3 separate regions of the Homo sapiens genome follow, and all the other regions are linked to region 3. The links are contacts of gene promoters, found by promoter capture Hi-C in blood cells and fetal thymus (Javierre and others, 2016). All regions are on one chromosome and are shown on one strand. The core of a region is centred on a gene start or on the middle of the fragment in contact, and the rest is flanking DNA. Distances in the headings are between cores, read along the strand shown.

Region 1 (2,700 bases), core at 102-2,601, 1.1 Mb before region 3:
CATTCCTTTTTACTGCAAAGTGATATTCTATTGCATAGATATACCACATGTTGTTTAACTATTCATCAGTCCGTGCATATTTGTACAGTTTCTGCTTTTTGGCTATTATGAATAATGCTGCTATAACCTATGTACAAGTTTCTGCGTGAATATATATCTTCACTTCTTTAGGATATATAGGAGTGAAATTGTTGGGTCATGTACTAACTCTAATGTTTAACATTTTGAGGAACTTTGCCAAGAATATTCAACAAAAAAATTGGCTGTAATTGTGTTGGTGACATTTTCTGTAGTATCGTGGAGTTTATAAGGCAAGGAAAGTTTTATGAAGATCATAAATATTTTCTCTACATGATTAATTGAGAGATACCATAATTTTGCTCAAAAGGTAAATTTACTATTCTAAAAATATTTATAGATATAAAGAAAAATCTAGAAAAAAATAAAATCTATGTTTTGGACCAATTTTATTCACAGTTATGGCCAGGTTGGATGATTATTACAAATATTTAGAGCTTAAGCTCCAAAGTGGTGTAGATCTTATAAATCATCACTTCAAATGTCTATATCTTACATTTAAAGAGATAAAATCATTATCTTCCAAATATGACAGAATTAGAGATTAATCTTGGGTTTTTATATTGTTGAAACCTCATATTTTATCATTAAGATCATGTATTTCATGTTGTGTGTGTGTTTTTGTTTTAGTAGGGGTTATCTGCTCAAAATTAATGTCTATCTCTCTAATAGAACAGAGAGGGTTTGGGGTACACATAGATTTTTTAAAAATAAAGCTAGACCTGTTTGGGGTGGATAAAATAACAGATATATTCAGTTTTTATGATGATAATGTGTAATGATCTTGATTTTATATGGAAATTTTAATTAATGCCCATGCGACAAATTATCTTCAATATAATAGAGTTTCTATATGCTATTTATCATGATAGCGCTTTAAAATTTTTAAATTTATTTTTTTTTAGCAATTTATGCTATAAGGGTATTACTGTATTCATGGTTTACATAGAAACCACAACTCAGAATGGTAATTGACTTATTTAAAATCAAATGGTAAACGGCTGTAATTTTAATGCTGATTTCCTAATTCCATACCTAGATTTTTGTAGCACCGCTGCAAAGTTTGGAGGATATAAGAAAATGTGCTTTGCAGATTAGTTGCCCATAATAGTGACTTCCAGTAAACTATGATGTCTTCATGAGGCTATTATTTAAAGTTTATTATACTTCTGCAGATTACCTAGCAAGAGCTTTGGTGAGTCCTGTAAGAGGTGATGCCTCTAAGAGATACCTGCTGGAATCATGGAATCCAGTCCAGGGCTTCTCAAGGGGCTTGTAGAGATAAGTTTCCTGTAATTGCAAACCTTATTTGAAGGGCTGTGAATTCTGCTAGATATGTAATTTGTGATAAAGAAAATGCTTCAAATTAAAACTATCCCCTTCATTTTTGTGTCACAGATATAGTCATTCAATGATGTTTTCTATAAAAGTACTGACAATTAATATTGCAATTTTCAAGCAAAAGCCCTTAAGCAACAAGCATTCATCCAAATACTTTTCTTTTCAATAAACACTATCAACAAAAGACATTAGAAGTAATGATTTCTAAGGGCCACAACAGTGGTTTTATAAATTAAATATCTTCAGGACTCTCTCTGAGAACAGTAATCAATATTTTATTTTATTATTTTAAGCCATTTTCTATTCTTTTAAATCTCAACTTTCTCTGGTTTTTCTCCCTCCTTCCCCTCCTTCCTTCCTTCCTTCCTCTTTTCCTTTTTCCTACCTTCCTTTCTTTCTTCCTATTTTATACTTATTTTTTCTTTTGCATTTATATGTTAATTTTCTTGTGTGCTTGTAGCTTCTTGGGTTTTTTTTTTTTGGCTCATATTTAAAAACAAGGCATTTGAAACTTGATGGGGACTTTGGTTTACATGAAGGAGGATTGATAATCAATAGGAATAACTAAAGAGAAGTAATCTCATTAGTGTCAGGGAAATTCTATATGATTGAAACTGAATATCCTTGATCCAGGATACAAATGCCCACAGTAGTTGAGCTAGTTCACCAAATAGTGTGTAGACTTATTGCTGTGTATGCTGATCTTAGGAAGAAGAGAAGATAGGCACTGTGGTCAAGCCGCCCCCTGGAAACATCTCATCCTTAATAACATTATTTTGGTAATTGCTGGACTCAAGGGATACAATTATAAAACTTGGACTTTGGTCTAAAATAAGCCCATACTGTTTTACCATTGTCGAGCCAAAACTTTTTATTACTGGAGACAAGTTTATTCTCTAGTTTTTACTATTTCCACTAGTGGTGCTACTGTTCTCCTTTTATCTCATGTTTAAACACTTGAAGTTGTTCTCGAATCCTCATCTCTCCTCTTGTATTCAATTTAGTAATTTATCTTACATCTTTTCCTCTTTTCCATTTGCCCTGGAGCCACCTTTTTCCTGGACTTCTATAATGTTATTTTAATAAATGAATCATGTTTGTCATGAGTATAACCATGCCTGAAGAAAGATTGTCCAAACACGCTGGTGCCAGGCAGAATGAGGTTCAAATCCTGGCTTTGCCCGTAAGTATCTACATTAAATAAGGAAATTACTTATCCTCTTTAAGTTATTATTTCTTTCGTAAAGTTGAGATACTCATAGTTCCTACCACATGGGGTTT
Region 2 (2,858 bases), core at 16-2,515, 1.1 Mb before region 3:
ATGAGAAATTTGAGGCTTTGGGGCTGAGCTGGCAAAAGCAGTTATTCAAATCAAGCTCAGTTCCTCCCCAGAACCAGACCCCTTTTGGGGCCTCCAGGATGACCTCACTTCCACTTTGCTCCAGCTAATGGGGTAACGTAGAATTCCTCTCAGGAAAAATGCTGAGCTTTTCAACCAAAGCTCACAAGCAATGGCCCTTCTCAAAGGAATTAATGAATAGGAACAGTAAGGAATGACTAAGAGGGTCTTCTTGTGGAGACAAATGATTGGTGAGTGTTGTTTGCAATCATTCTTTTTCATTGGTTCCAGCAGCTGCCTCTCTGTGGTTAGGTAGGGTTAACCCTAAACCTCTATGTACTGTGCCTCAAATCAAGTAGCAAAGGCCTGACTCATAATGAAAAAGGCCCTTGTAATTGACACTGGGATCTCCTCTTGTTTAGCACCGACTCAGACTCCTGTTCTTCACCAGCATCCTCTCTTCTCCTTCTTACCAAATATGTGGGTCTACTTGGCTTCTCTGCTATTTTGAAGGAAAATACATCAGGAAAAAAGGGGAGAGGGAGTTAAGCAACTCCCAGAGAAACACTGGTCCTGACCTTTAAGGCTTTGGTTCACTTGTCAAAAGAGTCCAGCAGTCAGTCCCCAGAGCCACAGAAACTAAAGTGTGGTCATTGCAGCACAACTACGCTGACCCTTGCTGGACTCCAGCTCCTTGGCTTTTTAAAAAATGAGTCGGCAACAAAGGAAGATCCCTAAGCCAGGTTATCCCATTAACCACTGGATAGCAAGAGGGAAAATAATAACATTTAGTCATTTGTCAACATGCTATCATCTGGTCAGTGCAGGTGCCATTCTCCTGAAACTGTGGCACAATGAAGGATATATATACTTGGATTGGACTCACTGGGTTGTATCACAGCTCTGCTACTTACGATCTGAGTGACTTTTGGCTGTTAAAAGATAAAGAGTTTATTTGAGCAGATAGTAATTCATGAATCAGACAGCTTAAAACTAGAAATGGTTCATAGCACTAAAAAGGGACATGAGGGGAAGTTTTATAGGGTGAATGTAAGAGCAAATAAAATAAATTATCTGATTGGCTAAAGTGTGAGCAAATGCCTTATTTAGAATATCTTAACAGGAAGTTCAAGACAATATTACCTAATGCCCACTAGCCTGCCTGTGATTGGCTGAGATTAAGTTTTGTTTTCTTTTAAGTTCTGTACCAGGTTTTGGCTTGCTTACTCTAGAACCCAGGGTGTCAGAGCCATCTCAGGCAAATTTTCTGCCATTTAATTATTTTAGCTGGGCATTGCTTCTCTGTGCATCAGCTTCTCTCTGTGAAATGGGGTAATAAACTTGCTGTGATGATTATATGATTAATTCATGTAAAGTACTTAAAACAGTTCCTAACACATAATAAGCATGTTTTACTTGTTTGTCATTATTATCCCAAAGTTCCCCATAACCTTCTAGTTGTTATCCCCTTTGGCAACAATTTACATTGTGGATTATGCATTTTTCTCAGAACTTGTTTCTTGTTTTTCATAACACACATCCTGTCTTCCCTAATTTCTCCCATTCTCCATATTCTTACTCCTTCCCCTTTCCCACTACTCACTCAAATTGGTCTGTCTCAACATTTTCTTCAGGGCTGCCTTTTTTTTTTATATGTCTGTGTTCCCTTTGAACAATTTTGTTTTCTTCCTGTGGCTCCTTCTCCCATGACTAGGTGGATAAACCAAAGCCTCTGTGGCTGCTCTCAGAAAGACCTTTTGGTTGGAATTTGCTCACTGACTCAGTGGTTGATCAGCTTTGCATCAGAAGACTATCTTCATTTGGATTTTGCCACTTACTAGCGAATGGTATAATTAGCTATTTTTAATATCGCTAAGTCATAGTTGTTCTCCCAGTAAAACGGGGATAATAATAATAGTTTCCACTTCAAAGAGTAATTATAAGACTTAAATGGGCCGAGTGCGATGGCTCATACCTGTAATTCCAGCACTTTGGGAGGCCGAGGCAGAAGAATTGCTTGAGCCCAGGAGTTGGAGACCAGCCTGGGTGACATGGCGAGACCCCATCTCTAAAGAAAAATCGAAAGAAATTCGCTGAGTGTGGTGCATGCCTGTAGTCCCATCTACTTGGGAGGTTGCAGCAGGAAGATAGCTTAAGCCCAATAGTTGGAGGCTGCAGTGAGCTGGGATCGTGCCACTGTACTCCAGCCTGGGTGACAGAGTGAGACCCTGTCTCAAAAAAGAAAAAAAGAAAAGAGTAGGCCTGAGGCAAAAAACTACACAAAATATGTTTAGCTATTCTATTTGACCTCTCCAATCCAAAATGTCTAAAATCCAGACTTACTGCCTTCTTTCCACCCAGACTAGCTCTTCTAAATTTCTTAGCACTGCTAATGGTACTGGCACATTTTTTAGTTACCTGTTTTCGTGGTTGAGTCATCCTGACTCTATTATCCTTTTCACTCCTCATCTGAACATTGAATGGGTCAGGATAATCTTGACCTTTGTTATGCAGGTTCTTGCTAAATTGAACTTTGAATGTTGTTAATCTTTTCAGTATGCCTTAAGCCCTGCCCTCCTTTTTTCTTTAAAATTCTGTTTGGCTTTAGAAATTTTTTGGAATTTGCAACTTCCATTAACCTTGTTAATTCCAATCCTTTGATGGTATAATCAGCATAATTGTCCAAAAAGTGACCCTGAAAGTTAGCTAGAACTTACAACCACTATGTCCGAGTGAGAGTTGCTGGGTCCAAATTCAGCTACCCATGTGGCCTCCTAGGGGTCATACAGTAACATCCAGGGGACCCAAGTTCTTTAAGTTCCAGCTATCTGGCTTCTCCA
Region 3 (2,871 bases), core at 50-2,549:
AGGGTGGGAAACTGCCGGCTTTCAGCAGACCACCCTGGCAATGAACAGAGCGCCAAGGAACCCTGGTATCTTCCGTAGAATATGCCACGGTCCCATAATCTTAGTGGAACTTCACCTTGACTGTACAGTATTGAATCGCAATACCTCTTATGGGAAGCTCTGAGCTCAGACATTCCAAAAGAAAAAAGTACCACCTTCGCCAACGAAAGTTTTTTTCTTGTCTTTAAAAAGGGATAGAGTGAGAGAGCTTAACGCCCCCTCCTCAACATTCCCTCGTCCCCTGCAAAGTTTTCCAACTTCAAAATACGCGGTCACCAAAGAGCGGGGTTCATTTGCTTATTCAAATAACTTTAATACTATGGGACATGTAAGACAGCAAAGGGGACAGGTGCAGATGGGCGATGCAGTAGAAAATATGCCTGTCCCCCCCTCCCTGCCCCTCACTCTCAAGCCCCGTTCCCAGTTTCCTCTCCACAAACAGCAGGATATCACGTCCGAGCCCAGCTTGCCCCTAGCCACTCGCAGGGACAGGGGAAATGTAAACTGTTGCTACAGCCTCCTGACACTCCACCGATAAATCAGAGGAAGCTGCAAAACTTCTTGGCTTGCTCAGCTATCCTCCACTGGCACTGAACGCCTATGCACAGATTTCGCAGTCAGCGCTACGGGAAAGGAAACCCTCAGTCAACCTGTTTGCAAAGCCTGCAGAACAACTCCCGGCCTTTCGATTTTGGGCGCCGAGGCTCTCCGCGCAGGACGGGAAACCCCCGGTTTCCTTCATCAGTATCCCTCAAACCAAGCTGGAGGTGAAGGGAACAGAGCTCCTGCTGCCCGGGTCCCAAGGTTCGGTCCCGTTGCATGAGGTCGGTGCTCAGGTCGCCGCGTGGGGCGTCCCCGCCCGCCTAGAGGGTCTCCGCACACTGCGCCCCGGGCAGCCCACGCTTCCCGCAGCCCCAAGCCAGAGGCGTCCGAGAAGATCCGCTTCCAAGTTCCCGCGTCTGGCTGGGAGAAGGGGCGACGATGGCTGTCCGGCGAGGAAAGAGCAAAGTCTGCGCCGGCAGCGCGCCCCCTTCCCCGGCGCTGCCACCCCGCGCCCCAGTCGGCCGGCCAGGGGGCCCGGCATCCCCGACTCGGGGCTCCGCGTGCTTGCACTCACCCGTCTCGCCAGAGCCGCCGCCGTAACCTCTGGGAGCCGCTGAGCCCCGAGCTTCCCGAGCGCAAGAAAGATGGTGGTGTGTGTCGGAAGACCACCCATTCCAGCGTCTGGCAACCCGGCGGCGACTCTGGCTCCTCAGCACTGAAGGAGGAGGAGGAGGAAGAGAAGGAGGAGGAGGAAGAGAAGGAGGAGGAGGAGGAGGAGGAAGGAACGGCGCAGTCAGACGCCATCTGCTGTACACCTCTGCGCAGCCATTGGCTGCCTGGTGCGTCCGAGAGCCGCGGGGCGCGGGGCCGCGGGGAGCCACCTTGCGCCTCGCCTACCCCGGCAGCTGTTCCCCACCGCCCCCTCTTTCTCCCCCCTCTCCTCCGCCTCCTACCGCCTCTGCCGCGCACCCGCACGACCCTCGGCTCAGCCTGCTCCCCAAGGCGAGCGACCGCGGGCGCGCTGGCCTGGACCTCAGTTCCTCTGCTCCCCGCAACTGTTTGCCGCAACTTTGAAGCTTCGGGGTGCCGGTGCGGGCTGGGTAAGGGGACTCCCCAGCTGAGCTCAGCCCGGAGTACCCAAGCCACTGAGCCCAGGAGAGGGTCGAGCGCTTTGCGCCTCGGAGGTCCATGAAGTGATGGGGGAAGAGAGCAAGAAAGAGTGGGGGTGCCCTAGGCCCCTGTTGATAACGCGCCCCAACACGCACACATGCGCGACACTCCGACACACAGTAAAACACACACACCGAGCCATCCCGCAAGGTCCGGATGGTCTGGCGTTCCTCTGCAGTCCCCGGGCACGAGAGGGCTTCGGTGTTACTAGGAGAAAAGACAAAGAAAATCCTATCTGGGGAGTACCCCTAGCAGCATACGTGGGGGAGAGAGAAAGGGAAACATTGTGGTGACTCCGGGAAACGCCGGGAGCTGGGTGCATACCTGCCTGGACATCCCCCCTGTTGCGGGGCTCCCAGCGACTGTCAGCCCACGCCCACCAGAGCCTGGGAAAACCCCTAGCTCTGGGGCCTCTGTTTAAAGGATTTGCAGTCCCGGGGCGCGGGGACCGGAGTTGCGGGAAGGAGCGCCTTAGGCTCCTGGGTAGCTCATGCCGGAAGCAGCAAAGGAGGTGGAGAGTCCGAGTCAGCCCAGGTGAGGCAGGAGTGCAGACAGCGGAGAGCACGTGGGCAGTCGAGGAGCAGAGTCACAGCTCAGAAAGTCGTTTGCTTACTCTCTGACACTTGTTCCAAACCCTTCTGGTTTTTGACACCTTTGATCTAGGGAACTTCTTAAGCTTGTTCAGAGAGATGAAGTTGCTTCAAAAGGGAGAAGGGGCGGGGGGAAGCATGAGGACTACCTATTGCCAATTACAGGATATTTTGCCTGTCAAATCTCTTTAAATGTGTGAGCCCAGCGACAGCAGGGATTGTATCTTTTCTATTTTATCCAATGCCTGGCACACCATGGGTGCTTAAAATGAAGCAAAATAATAATGATAAAATTAAAGCTTGATGTCATAGAGCAAATTAGATTCAAGAGATAAATAGAGAAGCTAGGATCTGTCACAGATAAAAAGAAATCAAAAGAATGTAAGTGCCATTGTAAAGAAAGATGTGAATATATTGGTAAGGGGCTTCAACTCAGCTTGCTGTGGGATGATGGGTTCTGAAAGCAGGGAAGCCTTACTTAATATTTTAAACAGCAATCGCTATTCTCCCACTACAGTCACATTCTGGG

The links. Contacts are between HindIII fragments. The CHiCAGO score rates a contact against its expected background, and 5 or more counts as called.
Region 1: a contact is called between a fragment that was not itself captured here and the fragment with the promoter of THSD7B in region 3, in 1 of 17 cell types (M2 macrophages). The highest score is 5.3, in M2 macrophages.
Region 2: a fragment that was not itself captured here is called in contact with the fragment with the promoter of THSD7B in region 3 in 2 of 17 cell types (M0 macrophages and M2 macrophages); the score reaches 7.4 in M0 macrophages.

The regions. Positions count from the first base shown.
Region 1 is chr2:137,848,148-137,850,847 of GRCh38, reverse strand. No RefSeq gene overlaps it. Among named protein-coding and RNA genes, the nearest start is that of HNMT, 110 kb to the left of the region's middle. The HindIII fragment of the contact is 6,731 bases long and covers 1-2,700 here.
Region 2 is chr2:137,824,370-137,827,227 of GRCh38, reverse strand. No RefSeq gene overlaps it. Among named protein-coding and RNA genes, the nearest start is that of HNMT, 140 kb to the left of the region's middle. RefSeq lists an enhancer at 452-511. The HindIII fragment of the contact is 4,775 bases long and covers 1-2,858 here.
Region 3 is chr2:136,763,973-136,766,843 of GRCh38, reverse strand. THSD7B (thrombospondin type 1 domain containing 7B) reads right to left here and starts at 1,299. Exons shown (of 28, transcript NM_001316349.2): 1 at 1,157-1,299. RefSeq lists an enhancer at 816-1,317. The HindIII fragment of the contact is 11,987 bases long and covers 1-1,660 here.